Regions from separate parts of the Homo sapiens genome. Here region 2 is linked to region 1. The links are contacts of gene promoters, found by promoter capture Hi-C in blood cells and fetal thymus (Javierre and others, 2016). All regions are on one chromosome and are shown on one strand. Each heading gives the region's core, a stretch centred on a gene start or on the middle of the fragment in contact. The rest is flanking DNA. Distances are from core to core; before and after follow the strand shown. Region 1 holds the start of DOCK4-AS1 (DOCK4 antisense RNA 1). Region 2 overlaps ZNF277 (zinc finger protein 277).

Evidence for each region. The method cuts DNA at HindIII sites, captures the fragments that hold promoters and counts their contacts. A CHiCAGO score of 5 or more calls a contact.
Region 2: a fragment that was not itself captured here is called in contact with the fragment with the promoter of DOCK4-AS1 in region 1 in 1 of 17 cell types (M1 macrophages); the score reaches 5.4 in M1 macrophages.

What each region holds. Positions count from the first base shown.
Region 1 is chr7:111,807,224-111,809,923 of GRCh38, reverse strand. DOCK4-AS1 (DOCK4 antisense RNA 1) reads right to left here and starts at 1,419. Exons shown (of 2, transcript NR_103806.1): 1 at 1,311-1,419. DOCK4 (dedicator of cytokinesis 4) reads left to right here. Exons shown (of 53, transcript NM_001363540.2): 29 at 523-623; 30 at 1,045-1,103. The HindIII fragment of the contact is 9,376 bases long and covers 1-2,700 here.
Region 2 is chr7:112,337,351-112,340,164 of GRCh38, reverse strand. It overlaps ZNF277 (zinc finger protein 277), which reads right to left. Exons shown (of 12, transcript NM_021994.3): 9 at 2,339-2,435; 10 at 280-322. All of the region lies in intron 2 of ZNF277-AS1 (ZNF277 antisense RNA 1), which reads left to right. Among named protein-coding and RNA genes, the nearest start is that of ZNF277-AS1, 12 kb to the left of the region's middle. The HindIII fragment of the contact is 733 bases long and covers 1,097-1,829 here.

The sequences.
Region 1 (2,700 bases), core at 170-2,669:
CTTAAAAGATTTGCCTGGGCAGGGAATTTTTATATAATGTCTGAATTTAAAGCAATTAGCATATCTGAAGAAGTGTATGCATTTTTTACAAGTTCTACGTTAAAAGGAGTTCCAAAAATGAACTCACACAGGAATAAAGAAATCCATCTTATACCTCATCCTCTTGGAGATACTCAGACATATTACAAGAGAAACCACGCATCTGTCTTTTAGCATATACCAAAAAGCTCGTGAAACCTGGAATACAGCTTTGGAGCAATATACACCTAGATAATAATAGTACTTATTTATTTAGTTACTTCTTCACTTTAGAAAATTTTAAGCATATGTACAAGTAGAGAGAATAGTATAATGAACCCCCATGAGGTACCCATATCCAGCTTCAACTATTATCAACTCATGGTCAGTCTTACTTCAACTATACCCTCAACCACTTTTGAAGCAAATCCAAAATACTATGTCACTTCACCTGTCAATATGCTTGTAACACCATAGTATTGATATATCTTGTTCTTGTTTTAGATCTGGGATTCCTACTTTTACCTCGCAGTCATTTTTATAAACCAGTTGTGTCTGCAGTTGGAGATGTTCACACCTTCCAAGAAGAAAAAGGTGTTAGAAAAGTAAGTATCAGTGTATAATCAGGTGAGAAATGTTGCCTCTTAAAGAGTATTTAGTTCAAATGATTCATAAATCAGAATGCGCATAACTGGAAATCACACAGTGAAGAACCAGTGACCAAGGGGTCAAGAAGCAGTCTTTTCTGGATGTTTTGATATTTCAAACATGTTTGCACATTGTTTTGACCTGGCTCTTTCAGGATTCAAAATTTCTATAGATGCAAAAAATTATGAAACAGATCTCTTTTACTAAAAGGTTTACACCAGAATTTGACTTAGAGGCATCGTGACATGTATATTAAATGTCTTTAATTAAAAACTCCTTGCCTTGTAATTCAGAATGATAGATTGTATCCTAAAGACACACAAATACTTCCTTGTTCTGGAGGCATTGTATCAGGTTTGGTTTTTTGTTCTATTTCAGGTATGGTGACATGCGGGTAACAATGGGTTGTGAAATTTTCAGCATGTGGCAAAACCTAGGTAAGTGAGGAAAAGAGAAGCCACATCTACTATACAGCTCCTCGCTGTACCTTGAAGTGTACAAATGAAGAAAGGCAATTTACCAGTGACACCATGTGAAACCAAATGTCTAAATCAATAAACATCTATAGAAAGTAATTGACACTTTGGCATTGAATGAGGTTACAACAAATTCTTTAAATTGGTCTCTAAGAAAAGTCACCTTACCTTTGTGTGTTTCATTATTAATTAACGATAAATTTTATAATCTAGCATTGCTCCAACATTACACATATTTCCAGCGATGAGGCAACCTTTCAGAATTTGGAACTGTAACAACTCAAAATTTCTAGAACTCTGAGTTGAAGCTATGAATCATAATAAATTTAGGTTAAACTTCATGAAACATTGACTTGAACGTCACTACTCTTAAAAACTTGAGACCATTGTCCTATATCATAAAGAGTATAGCCAAAGGATTTTAAAAGCATCTGCAGTTGCTAAGAAACTGTTGGATCCAATTTTGTTAATCTGCTATAGCAGATAGAGTATATTATTCCAGAAAATTGATGGTACAGATCTGGTTGCATAGAAAACAGTAATATTTGGAAAACAAATTGTTTTAAAATTCATTGGCATAGGGTCCCTTTCTAGAGATTTATAAGTTATTTCATTTGGTATGTTAACTATGCAGGTTTTTAGTATTCATTTACTATTACTGCATCTTAATGCTCCTCTTTGATTTATTAAAATGATTGACCTATTTGAGTTGAATACGTAATGACCTGAAAATATCTTTTCTCTTGGGCTTATCCAAGTACAACTTGGAGATTGGAAGGATTTATTTTCTGTGAATGAAAATAGAACCATTATTGTTTTACTTCCACTCATGTTAACAGACTGATTTTTGACCAGGATCATTACAGGGTGATTTTTTTTTAATAGGGTATGTATATTCCTCAAATATACATAACAACTTGAGGGAGCCTTGGTATATATAATTAAGCCCAGTGTTCAATGCTTGCTGGTGATTTCAGAAAAAATAAAAAATAAAAAAAAATAATGAAGCTGGGAGCAATGGCTCATGCCTGTAATCCCAGCACTTTGGGAGCCTGGAGCGGGCAGATCACTTGAGGTCAGGAGTTTGAGACTAGCCTGGCCAACATGGTGAAACCCTGTCTTTACTAAAAATACAAAAATTAGCCAGGCGTGGTGGGGGGGTGCCTGTAATCTCAGCTACTTGGGAGGCTGAGGCAGGAGAATCACTTGAACCTGGGAGGTGGAGGTTGCAGTGAACCAAGATCGCTCCATTGCACTCCATCAGCCTGGGTGACAGAGTGAGACTCTGACTCAAAAAAAAAAAAAAAAGAGTTATCATCTTGAAAACAACCTTCAACTATGTAAGGCCAGCCAGAAGATATCATGGTCTGTCTTTAGTTGCAGCTCAAAAATAGTTTTCTTATTTGGAGACTGCTCTTCTTAGTCTTCAGTGTTTTCAGGTTTCATTGATTCTTTGTGTCCTTGTTTTTCCTAAAGAAGATCAAGGCCCTTGTAGTGTCCATATTGCATTCGACATTAATTTAGCAAGATGTTTTTGAAAGAATGCTGCATTGAATCT
Region 2 (2,814 bases), core at 214-2,713, 530 kb before region 1:
CCTCCAATTTATGATATATTATTAACCACTAACTTATATTTCACTTGAAGCACTCATATATGTAGGAAAGAGAAAGAAGGAGTATATGAAACCAAAAACCATATTTGACTATTATGGTTGAGCATCACTGCTTCACAGAGAGTTCTGTCAAGACCATCTATAGAGAGACATGTTTTGGTGGTGCACTCTCCAATCATAGCTACTGAACATAGGCATAGCTTACAGGATGGTTTATAAAAAATGAAGCATCACAGAAAAAAACCTCTGAATCAAACTTACCAAGTTCTGACTTTATTTTGAGAAGATCAAATTCGTGTGCATCCTAAAAAAGGAATGAATACATCTGTAAGCATATGAATTATTTAATCTTTCAGGCTGAAGTTATAAACAACTTATTCACAGGAGTTTGAGTAGTTTAGAAACTCAGTCTGAGTTCGGTATCTTCTGCTTTTGAAGTCTTCCAAGTCTAACTACTTCCCTCCATACCCAACTTTTTTACAGCATAGTCCAAACAAGTCATGTCAATCAGTTAAACCATTATAATTGGGCCGGGCGCGGTGGCTCACGCCTATAATCCCAGCACTTTGGGAGACCGAGGTGGGCGGATCACCCGAGGTCAGGAGTTTGAGACCAGCCTGGCCAACATGGCAAAACCCCGTCTCTACTAAAAATACAAAAATTGGCTGGGTGTGGTGGTGGGTGCCTGTAATCCCAGCTACTCAGAAGGCTGAGGCACGAGAATCGCTTGAACCTAGCAGGCAGAGGTTGCAGTGAGCTGAGATCGTGACACTGCACTCCAGCCTGGGTGACACAGCGAGACTCCATATCAAAGAACAGCAACAACATTATAATTGCTCATAGCTTATATCTATAGTTTTTATAATTTACAATGTTATCCATTTTGTAGCCTTCTAAAAATGTAGAAGTCTATGTATGCATTCTGCAGTGTGATAAAAGTGTAGGTAAGATATGTTTCTATTGTACTGTGCATTTGGACTAGAATTATGGATATAGGTTCTTTGCCCCACATAGGTAATTTTTACAAATTCTGCTTTTCATTTTATGCTGTCAAATACACTGTTTAAACCTCAAAGCTTCTCTTCACTCACACCTTCCTATAAATCACGCTTTCTTTTGATTTTTACAATGCACTTATTTTTTGCGTGTTTGTTTGACACCTGCAATTGTCTGTGTAAATGTTTTAACCTACAATCTCACAGATGATAAAGACCATTTAACTCACTGGGATGGCATTTAGTGTAGCACCATATGAAGGATGATTAGGAATTCGTGATGTTATCACTGAAAGTGACCCAGCAGAGGTTAAGGACACCTGTCAAGGATGCCGAAAAGGTAATCCTTACACAGGATAGGCATACTAAGGCTGCCTTCAATACAAAGACATTAAGATATTATGAATTAAATCTAAACACAGGAAATTATACACACATACTAGTGGGAACCTTTTTCAGAGAAACTAAAATCAAGGAAAATGTTTATGGTCTTTTGAGCGCTTTCTAGGCCCTTATTTTACTAAACTAAGAACAGTATTTCTGAATAAGGGTGAGGTGAAAGTGGGTGAAAGTAGAGAATATGGTCCACTATTGGCAGAGGTGGCTGCAGGGAGGGGACGGAGAGATATCAGAATCATCCAGTAATATTTTTCTATTATAATCACCCCTCTGCCCACAAGCTGTGATACTATCATGAATCATTACATGTTCCCCTTCCCTATCCGCCTTGTGCAGCTAAGGATCAGAGGTGCAGGGTGTGTGTCCTCTCTCAGGTATACTGGGGTGAAAAAGGTTTAGAACTGCTAGCTCCAAGCTTCACTATAACATAAAAATGGCATCCAGAAGGGAAAGCCCACACTAGGAATGCTCCCTAGTTTCTTCTCTCTAAATCCTGGCACCTGAAGGAACTGTAGGATCATGCCCTAGCTCCTCTCTACCCACCCTCCTTTTTCCCTATTCCTCCGGGACCTTTGTAAATGGCAATGTTCTCCCTTCTTGCTCTCCTATTCACCAGCACAAGAAGCACTGGAAAAAAGACTCAGAACCTGTCCCACCTGCTGAGCTAGAATGATCTTGTAAGCATCTCAAAGGTGAGATGGCATCAGTGGTCTGAGAAATCTCACACTAACAAACAGCTCACTCGGGTCCAGTCAACTGTACTAACTAAATTGCCCTGAGCTCTGGTTCTCCCTGACAGACCTGGCCTGTCTCTTCTGGTTGGAATAATGATTGGGAAACTGAAGTAAAAGCAGATGAGGGTGCAACAATTACTAGCTTTCCCCTGTCAGAATAAAACAAAATTCAAATAAATACAGGTATCTTACCTCCATGTGGACATACAACTTCTCAATTGTTTCTGCTTGCTTTTCACAAAATAAGCAGACTGCAGAGGCAGGGTGTTCTTCCCAATCAGACCAGTCACTGAATTAAAAAAGAGGAGAGAAAATACGGAGATTCCCTTCATTAAGAGAGTATACTACACAGTGACTTGGTATTGCTTTCTCCTTACTAAAAAACCCTGCCAATCTCTTTCAACTCTGACATTTTGGTAAAGACTGTCACATCATATTATGACTCTCTGATATAGCTTTTGAAATTCAAAGCAGCACCATGAAATTAATATACATAGTGAACAGGTGCTGTTCCATTTTCTCCTATTTGCCGTTCTTCTGAGTAGCTATCTCAGTCTACAGTCAGAGGAATGTCGTCCTGAGACAATGAGGTTTAATTTGCAAAGGAGACATATCAGAAAATGTGATGCTCTCTCCCATTAACCACAACCACTGAGTGCACACGCTGT